2 separate regions of the Homo sapiens genome follow, and region 1 is linked to region 2. Evidence: promoter capture Hi-C in 16 types of primary human blood cells and fetal thymus (Javierre and others, 2016). All regions are on one chromosome and are shown on one strand. The core of a region is centred on a gene start or on the middle of the fragment in contact, and the rest is flanking DNA. Distances in the headings are between cores, read along the strand shown. Region 1 overlaps XRRA1 (X-ray radiation resistance associated 1). Region 2 holds the start of CHRDL2 (chordin like 2).

Region 1 (5,005 bases), core at 377-2,876, 140 kb after region 2:
AAAGTACCACTCCTTCATTAGGCAGAGACATTTTAGCTTGCATGGGGGCCAGCATCCTTATAGCCCCAAGACAAACTCTTTGTTTCCCCCAGGTGGAAGCTATTATTAATCCAGAAGGGTGAGCAACTCAAGGAAAAATAGGCCAGTTCAGATCCATCTTAAGGATCCCACTGCTTTTCTTAACCAGAGACAATATCCCCTAAAGCCAAGGCTAGGAAGGGGCTAGAAGCCATTATTAATAACCTGAAAATGCAGGGCCTCCTCGAACCTTGTAGCAGCCCCTGCAACACCCCAATATTAGGAGTGCAAAAACCCAATGGAGAATGGAGACTAGATCAGATCCTCCACATCATTAATAAGGCCATAGTTCCAACTCATCCAGTGGTCCCTAATCCCTATACTTTGCTAACCCAAATACCTGAGGGAACTAAATGGTTCAGTCCTAGATCTAAAGGATGCCTTTTTCTATATAGCGTTACATCCTGACTCTCAATACCTGTTTGCCTTCGAAGATCCCTCTGGCCAGATGCCCAGTTAACATGGACAGTGCTGCCTCAGGGATTTTGAGACAGTCCCCACTTGTTTGGACAGGTACTGTCAAAGGACCTCTCTGAGTTTTCCCATCCTCAGGTCAGGGTCTTGCCATATGTAGATGACATACTGTTTTGTGCCCCAACTGAGGAAGCATCTCAGGAAGGCAGTGAAGCTCTTCTTAATTTCTTAGCCAACAGAAGATATAAGGTTTCAAAATCTAACATCAAGCTTTGCCAAACCTCAGTGAAGTACCTGGGTGTAGTGTTGTCTGAAGGGACCAGAGCATTAGGGGAAGAAAGGAGTAAGCCAATTTCCTCCTTCCCCCTCCCTAAAACCTTCAAGCAACTAAGAGGATTTGGGGGCATTACAGGATTCTGCAAACTCATCTTGGTATGGTGAGATAGTTTACCCCCTATATCACCTCATAAAAAAAACTCAAGGCCAGGCACGGTGGCTCACACCTGTAATCCCAGCACTTTGGGAGGCCGAGGTGGGCGGATCATGAAGTCAAGAGATCAAGACCATCCTGGCCAACATGGTGAAACCCCGTCTCTACTAAAAATACAAAAATTAGCTGGGCATGGTGGCACACGCCTGTATTCCCAGCTACCCAGGAGGCTGAGACAGGAGAATCGCATGAACCCGGGAGGTGGAGGTTGCAGTGAGCTGAGATCACGCCACTGCGCTCCAGCCTGGGTGACAGCAAGACTCCGTCTCAAAAAAAAAAAAAAAAAAAAAAAAAAAAAGAAAGAAACTCAAGTGGCTAAAACTCATTTCCTAACCTGAGAACCTGAAGCTCAAAAGGCCTTTAATTAGTTAAAACAAGCCTTACTTAAGGTACCAGTCCTCAGCCTTCCCATAGGGAGGGTCTTCAATCTTTTGTATCAGAAAGGAAGGGAATGGCCCTGGGAGTTTTAACTCAAGCCCGAGGACCAGCTCAACAGCCAGTGGGCTCCCTAAGTAAGGAACTTGATTTGGTGGCTAAAGAATGGCTATCATGCCTCTGAGCCATTGCCAAAGTGGCCCTACTGATACCAGAGGCCACCAAATTAACCCTGGGAAATAGCTTAACTGTTTATACCCCACATAATGTAGCACGATTGCTGTCCTCTAAGGGATGCCCTTGGCTAACAGAAAGCTGACTCCCTAAATATCAGGCTCTGATATTAGAAGGGTCTACAATCCAGTTAAAAACTTGCTCTTGCCTAAACTCAGCCACTTTCCTCCCCAAGGAAACTGAGGAACCTGAACATGACTGTGAACAAGTTGTGGTACAGACCTATGCAGCCAGGGAAGCTCTCAGGGAAACTTCCCTAGAAAATCCAGATGGGACGCTCTTCACAAATGGAAGTTCCTTTGTGGAACAAGGAGTCTGTAAGGTGGGATATGCAATGTACACTCTGAATGACATTGAAAGTGCACCCCTCTCCCCAGGCACAAGCATTCAACTAGCTGAACTGATAGCTCTTACAAGAACACTTGAATTAAGCAAGGGAAAGGTAGCTAACATTTACACAGAATCCAAGTATGCTTTCTTAGTTCTTTATGCTCATGCTGCCATTTGGGAGGAAAGACACTTTCCTACTACTAAAGATAACCTATAAAATACCATCAGGAAATTAACAAGTTATTATCCTCAGTTTTCCTTCCACGAGAGGTAGCAGTGATGCATTGTAGGACATCAGAAGGGAGCAGATGAAGTAGCCTAAGGAAACAAGTTAGCTGATGAGGCAGCCAAGTCAGCAGCAAGTCAGCCTCAGGGCCTCAATGCACCTGAAGCCCCCTCTAATCTGGGAAGGCTCCATAAGAGAAATTAAGTCTCAGTACTCCCCTGCAGAGGCAGAGTGGGCCACTTCTCAAGGGTATACTTTTCAGCTCTCAGGATGGCTACAGTAAGAGGACGGCAAACTCCACTTGCCAGCCTCCCGCCAGTGGAAAGTCCTTAAGATCCTTCATCAAGCTTTTCACTTGGGAAAGGATAAAACTTATCAGTGTGCCCAGAGATTTTTCAGGAGAGAACTTAATAACAGTCAAGCAGCTTGTTAGTGCTTGTGAAGTCTGTCTTAAAAATAATCCCTTTGGCTGGGCACGGTGGCTCACACCTGTAATCCCAGCACTTTGGCGGGTGGATCACTTGACATCAGGAGTTCGAGACCAGCCTGGCCAACATTGCAAAACCCCATCTCTACTAATAATACAAAGAAATTAACCAGATGTGGTGGTGCACGCCTGTAATCCCGGTTACTTGGGAGGCTGAGGCACGATAATTGCTTTAACACAGGAGGTGGAGGTTGCAGTGAGCTGAGATCACACCACTACACTGAAGCCTGAGCAACAGAGTGAAACTGTGTCTCAAAATAATAATAATCCCCTTAACAGGCATCTCCTTCCTCCTCAAACCTAAAGGATGGGAAGCCATCCAGGGAAGGACTGGCAGATAGACTTCACCCACGTGCCAAAGAAGAAGGACATCCAATACATCCTGGTATGGGTAGATACTTTCACTAACTGGATAGAAGCATTTCCATGCTGTACAGAAAAGGCCTCCAAGGTAATAAAAGTGTTTGTTACTTAATGAAATAACTCCCCACTTTAGTCTACCTAAGTGCCTTCAAGGTCACAATGGCCCCTTGCTTAAGACAGCTGTCACATAAGGGGTCACAAAGGCACTAGGCATACAGTATCATCTCCATTGTGCTTGGAGACCCCAGTCCTCAGGAAAGGTAGAGAAGACAAACGATATTATCAAAAGACATCTCAGAAAACTGTTCCAAGAAACTAACCTTCCTTGGGTCACTCTTCTTCCCATGGCTTTACTGTGGGTAAGAAATACCCCTTCAAAGTTAGGTCTGACCCCGTTTTAAATGCTGTATTAACAGCCTTTCCTTACAAGTGACTTTCTATTAGACCAAGACACCTCTAAATTGGTTAAGCATGTAACCTCCCTAGCTCACTTCCAACAGGAATTAACACAACTAGCAGAAGCCCAACCCCCCAAAATAGGACCATCATTATTTAACCCAGGATATGTGGTATTAATAAAGACTCTGCCCTCTGTCTCCCTACCTAAGCCCAAGTTAGGAAGGGCCCTACACTGTTCTTTCAACCCCTCAGCGATAAAAGTCACAGGAATGGACTCCTGGATGCATCACTCAAGTCAAAGCCTGGAAACCTGAGAGAGAGAGCAACCCCAGACAGCCCAGAGGAATGTCCTGGATATCCATGTGAAGAAATAGGAGATCTTAAGCTGAAAATCATAAAAGATAAGTAAATGAGTAAGGGCTATTCATCCTACTCAGTCCCACTCCTACCTTATCAGATACTTTCAGTTATTTCTACTTTTCCTCTCGAGATTCGCTGTGAGATACTAGAACTTCTTTTTGATGCATACTTGTGGGAAGATTTTGATTATCCATGAGATTACAGTTGTAACTTCATAGACTCCCAAAGGGAAATTCTTGGTGAGTAAAATTTAAGATGGAAATTATCTACTACACCACCCTTGTGTAAATTGTTATACTTACTCTGCTATTTGCAGTAGGACTATATACTGTGGTACCTGCAATGTAGAATTCTGGATGGAATATTCTAATTGCTGTAATATTCTGCCTAATTTTTACAACAGGATTAATAATTACAGGAAAGATTTAGCCAAGGTTAACACTAAAGTTACTCTAGCCACCCAATAATGTGTTCCTCCCAATCACATCACAAGTCATAAAAGATAGCCCAGGCCTACAATTATCTTCTAATGGCAAGTCAAGGGGGAATATATGTTTTTTTTCAAAGAAAAATGTTGCTTTTATATTACACTTCTGGTAAAGTACAGCGACATCTGGTGGAGGCAACTAGTATTACAACCCATCAAATGGCTATCAGGTATCAAACTCTACTGTCATGGTTATAGCCTATAGTACTCCCACTAATAATGGGATTCTTTTTTTTTATTTTTTATTTTATTATACTTTAAGTTTTAGGGTACATGTGCACATTGTGCAGGTTAGTTACATATGTATACATGTGCCATGCTGGTGCGCTGCACCCACTAACTTGTCATCTAGCATTAGGTATATCTCCCGATGCTATCCCTCCCCCCTCCCCCCACCCCACAACAGTCCCCAGAGTGTGATATTCCCCTTCCTGTGTCCATGTGATCTCATTGTTCAATTCCCACCTATGAGTGAGAATATGCGGTGTTTGGTTTTCTGTTCTTGCGATAGTTTACTGAGAATGATGATTTCCAATTTCATCCATGTCCCTACAAAGGACATGAACTCATCATTTTTTATGGCTGCATAGTATTCTATGGTGTTTATGTGCCACATTTTCTTAATCCAGTCTATCATTGTTGGACATTTGGGTTGGTTCCAAGTCTTTGCTATTGTGAATAATGCTGCAATAAACATACGTGTGCATGTGTCTTTATAGCAGCATGATTTATAATCCTTTGGGTATATACCCAGTAATGGGA
Region 2 (4,818 bases), core at 678-3,177:
TAATTCCATTACTTGTTCTATGTAATGGAAAGACTTATGTGAGTCTCATGCTGCTGGCAGGCCAGAGACACTCAGCCTGCTCTCATGAGCAGAAACAAGACCGTAACAAAGTCCAGCACTACCAGCTCCAGAATGTCACGTGCAAAAGAAAGGCATAGATGGAGGAGCTGAGCTGGGGAGAGGAAAGAGCACCAGACTAGGAGTTGGGAACGCAGGGTCTTAATCCCAGGCTGTGCCATGTATGTCCTGGAGAAACCCACTGCTTGAATGAAGCTCCTTTCTTCTGATTAAGAGAATGTGGTTTGGTTTTCCATCCTCACAGCATTCTAAGAGATTGGCTGGGCATGGGGAGGGGGGACCACCAGCCTATTGTGGGCGCAGTGAGGAAACTGAGGCTCAGATTGATGATGTAACCTGTTTGATGTTACACTGTATCTATGTGGAAAAGCATAATTGGGAACTGATTTTTTTTGGAAGCTATCAAGCACCAGTCTTGTGCTAGCTGCTTTACCTCTTTTCTCTAATTTAATCCTATCAACTCTCCTAGGATTTTTACTTCCGCTTTATAGATTAGGAAACCCAGGGTCAGAGAGGTGCACTCTGTGACGGCCTCCCAGCAGCTGGCATTCAGCGGGGCTGGGATGGTGAAGACGCTGGTCTATCTCACTGTGCCCTGCCGCCTCCCAGAGTCTCACACTGCAAATTCAGGGTTCCTTCTAGACAATGTGAGGCAGGGAATAAAGCATGGGATCTGGAACTAGAGTTCTGGCTTTGGATGGCTTACCCGCTCTGTAAGTTTTAGCAAGTTCCTCCTTGCTCAGCCTAAGTTTTCTCATCTGTAAAGTGCGAATGATAATACCCACCTCACTGGAGAGTTGCGAGGATCAAAAGAGAGAAAAGAATGGGAAGGTTATCCTAATTACCTCTCATTTCTGTCCAATGGCTCTTTCCAAAGGCAAAAAGCCTTTTCTTCTCCATCACACTCCTTACCTGTAGCCAGACATACCCGACTCCCTCCTAGGAACAGTAAGTCCTCCCCCAACCCAAAACACAGTGCCCTGCCCTCTCCCCCCGCTGCCCTTGGTGCCCCTCCTCAGGTCCCTGGCAGCAGCCCTCTCTCAGTTCTGAGTTGTGCCGAGTTCCTCCGGTCCCCCGGCCCATACTGGTCCTCACGGAGTCTCCACCCCTCCGGCACAGGTGCTGCCTGGACGGCTGTCAGAAGAGCTTGGGGTCCAGGTCCTGGCGCTGTCCCTCACATTCCAGGGGCCGCATCCCTCCTCTGCCCACCCAGCCTCCCGGTCTACTTACGGGCTCGAGCGTGGGAGTCCAGGGGGAACCAGAGCAGCGCGAGTCCCAGCAAGGAGGAGAGGACCCTCACCTCGGGAACCATCCTTTCCCCAGGGTCAGGCCGCTGGTCCGGGAGCGGAGTCGGGAGGAAGGGAGACGAAAAGGACACGGAGGCACAGGGGCCACAGATCAACCCACAGACCCCAGGAGGTCTGCTGCTAGAGCGGGGTCGGAGAAGGGCCAGGAAGCAGCGGTGGGCAGGAAAGGAGGGCAGGAAGGGAGGTCTAAGGTGGGAAGAAGAGAAAGGTGGAAAGAGAACGCGGGGAAAGGAGGGAGAGATGGAGAGACGAAGGAAGGTCCAGCAGAAGGGAGAGGCGATCAAAGAAAGGGGGAAGGTGAGAGGGAGAGGAGGAGAAAGCAGGGAGAGGACCGGCGTCTGCCGAGCGCGCAGCGCCGGGCGAGGCGCGCGGGACCAGCGGGTGTTGCGGGCGCGCGGGCTAGAGGCGGCCGGCGCCCCCTGCTCGGTGGGCTCGGGGTCGGGCCGCGGGGGCCTGGGGCCCGGCGGGGCGGCGGTCCCAGCAGCGGCGGCGGCGCGGCGGCCGCGGAGGGAGGCTGAGCGCGGGCCGGCTGTGCTCGCCAAGGGCTTCAGGCGCCGCGCTCGGGCGCATTTGTACTTTGCCGCGGGAAGCAGGCAGCCCGGCCTGGCGCTGGCCTAGCGCTGGCGCCTCCTCTGGGGCACCGCGGGCTCGGTGGATTGGCCACCCGAGAAACAGGCCCACTTTTTCCCCTCCTCTCTTGTGCGGGTCTCCGGGACGGACGCTCCAGGCGCGGCGCCGAGTGGAGGCGAGGGGGCTGCGGAGGGGGAAGGGGCCACGCGGGCCACGGGGTTTAACCCCTGACTCCCCGCGACGCCAAGAATGCAGGAGGGCAGAGTTGAGGGAGACCTCAGGTGGAACTTTCAGGTGGGGAAGGCTGAGCTGTCGGGGCTGCGGGTACCGGGAAGGCTCAGGGTAAGGCGCTCGGCGGTGCGTGCCCGGAACTCCGCAGATGGATGGAATCAGAACACTGGCGTTCTTAATTCAGTTTGTGGTCTACAGCACGCCACCGGAGAGTCTGTTTTCCCAGCTTTAAAATGGGCATTTTAAGATCTTAAAATATCTCTACTATCTTCCCACGAGTGTTGCTAAGATGAAATAAGGTAATGAACGTCGAAACACTCACCCCACAAAGAGAAGGGGTCCTAATTCCAGGTGCCTACAATACCAGTGGCCCCTGTCCCCACTCCGTCTGCCCATGCGCCATTCTCAGGAAAGTCAGCCCATAGGGATCCTGTGCCTTCCCCTGGAGGTCTTCCTCTGCTCCCCGCTCCCACTCCCGAATCAAGGCAAGATCTCTCCTTTGCCTTTGCAGGTGAGGCCTGCACTTCTCTGGGAGTGATGGTCACCTTCAGTCATCTTTAGGGAGAGCTGATTGTCAAAGAGTTTTCTTTCCCACCAGAAGGGGAGCTCCCTGAGGACAGGGCCCTGACACCCTCCAGCCCTCAAATGGTGCTCCATCTCTTGTGTTGAATGAACACATGCACTAATAGGACACTAAGAAGAGAATAGCCAGCTCTGGCCAGACCAGAAACACACAAGCTCTGAAATCAAAAGGGCAGAGTCACTGTCCTGGCTCCATCCGTAACTTGTTGGGCCACTTTGAGTAAATACATCTATCCTTGCTTTGGACCTCAACTTTCTGCCCAGCTTCTCTTGAAGAGCTAATGGAGACTCCAAAGAGTGCCAGAGGAGTATGAGGTGGGAAGGGATGTTGAGCCATATCCCACTCTGGTAGGGAATCATATTTCCGGGTTTAAACACTTGGCTGGCTGGCTGTAAAGGTATCTTTCTGGGCCAAGGCTGGGCTCCCCATTGCACTGTGCTTTCAGGGTATTACCCCCAAGATCTCCACCCTCCAAAAGAGAGCAGTAGGAGGAACCAGTGATCCCCAAACTGGCCCTTCCTAGGGCTCTCAGGATCAGGGACAAACATGATCTGTCCAGTGCCCTTCAGGCTTAATTTCTACTCTAATCTGGCCAGTCTCTTCCTTTCCCCTGAGTATTCTTTATTTTAACAGATAGTGCAAGCTTATGCATGTCACCATGCTTCCCTTTTTGCCTTTGCTTCCAGGGATCTCAGAGTTAAATCCTGTGCTGCTTAATTGCATAAACAATCTCATCCCAAGGGTTTGGGACAGTGATCTTTTCCTTTCTCTTTGTTTAAAATGTGCTGTGCACATATATTCATGTCTTAGATGTAAGAAGTGGATTAAGATGGGTTCCCCTACATCCTGCCCATCATACTTCAAAAAAGGCCTCCACCATCTCAGCCCTCCTGTCCATCCCTATTATCCCCAGAGTTGAGGCCAACTTCATTCCTTTTTTTTTTTTTTTTGAGATGGAGTTTTGCGCTTGTCGCCCAGGCTGGAGTGCAGTGGCGTGATCTGGGCTCACTGCAACCTCTGCCTCTGGGTTCAAGCGATTCTTCTGCCTCAGCCTCCCGAGTAGCTGGGATTACAGGCATGCACCACCTATAATTTTTGTATTTTTAGTAGAGATGGGGTTTCGCCATGTTGGCCAAGCTGGTCTTGAACTCCTGACCTCAGCTGATCCACTCACCTCAGCCTCCCAAAGTGCTGGGATTACAAGCATGAGCCACCGCACCCGGCCATCTTCATTCCTTACTTGAACTTTCCCAACAGCCTCTTACCAGGTCTCCTCCCCCTAATCTGGATCTCTCCTATCTATTTTCCTCACACCTGCCTTGAGAACTATGCTGATCATTTCTACTGACAAATCTGATCACATCACTTTCCCACATAAAACCTATTATTCACTTCCTATCATTTATAGGTTAAAATCTAAAATTTTCAGCACTGAATTGAACACCACGCATATTTTAGTTCCAATCTACCATTGCCACCTACCCTACACTTTGGCCAACCGCTCACCTCCCCAAACTGACCATGCGTCGTCGCACCTCCATATCCTCACACATGTTTTCCTTCTGCCTGGACTCTCTCTTCCTCCATCTAGTGAATCCCATTTAACTTTCCAAAGGTCAGTTGAGTCACCTCCACTCCAAGGTCTTCCCTGAGTCCCCCAGGCAAAGTCAATGTTTAGTCTTTGTGTTTCCCATAGCACTTTGAATTGTAGCTGTTGGAGTGTAAGTATTTATTTGCATTTTTACCCTGCACTGTGAGTGCAGGTGCCTTTTGAAATTTATATCTGTAATTCGAGCATTTAGCAAAGTCCTTGACACACAGATACTGAATAAATAATTGCTACATGAATGAGTGAAGACCTCAGTGATTGGAAAAGCCTTCAGCCCACTATTGGCCTCAGCTTTAGTCAATGATTGACATAAGAAACAAACACTTGAAAGTTTCTGTGTCAGGCCGGGCCCAGTGGCTCACACCTGTAATCCCAGCACTTTGGGAGGCTGAGGTGGGAAGATGGCTTGAGCCTAGGAGTTTAAGACCAGCCTGGGCAAC

The links. Contacts are between HindIII fragments. The CHiCAGO score rates a contact against its expected background, and 5 or more counts as called.
Region 1: a fragment that was not itself captured here is called in contact with the fragment with the promoter of CHRDL2 in region 2 in 1 of 17 cell types (endothelial precursors); the score reaches 5.8 in endothelial precursors.

What each region holds. Positions count from the first base shown.
Region 1 is chr11:74,872,983-74,877,987 of GRCh38, forward strand. All of the region lies in intron 10 of XRRA1 (X-ray radiation resistance associated 1), which reads right to left. Among named protein-coding and RNA genes, the nearest start is that of XRRA1, 74 kb to the right of the region's middle. The HindIII fragment of the contact is 1,732 bases long and covers 761-2,492 here.
Region 2 is chr11:74,729,499-74,734,316 of GRCh38, forward strand. It overlaps CHRDL2 (chordin like 2), which reads right to left and starts at 1,928. Exons shown (of 11, transcript NM_001278473.3): 1 at 1,309-1,928. The coding sequence starts at 1,390. The HindIII fragment of the contact is 5,548 bases long and covers 1-3,410 here.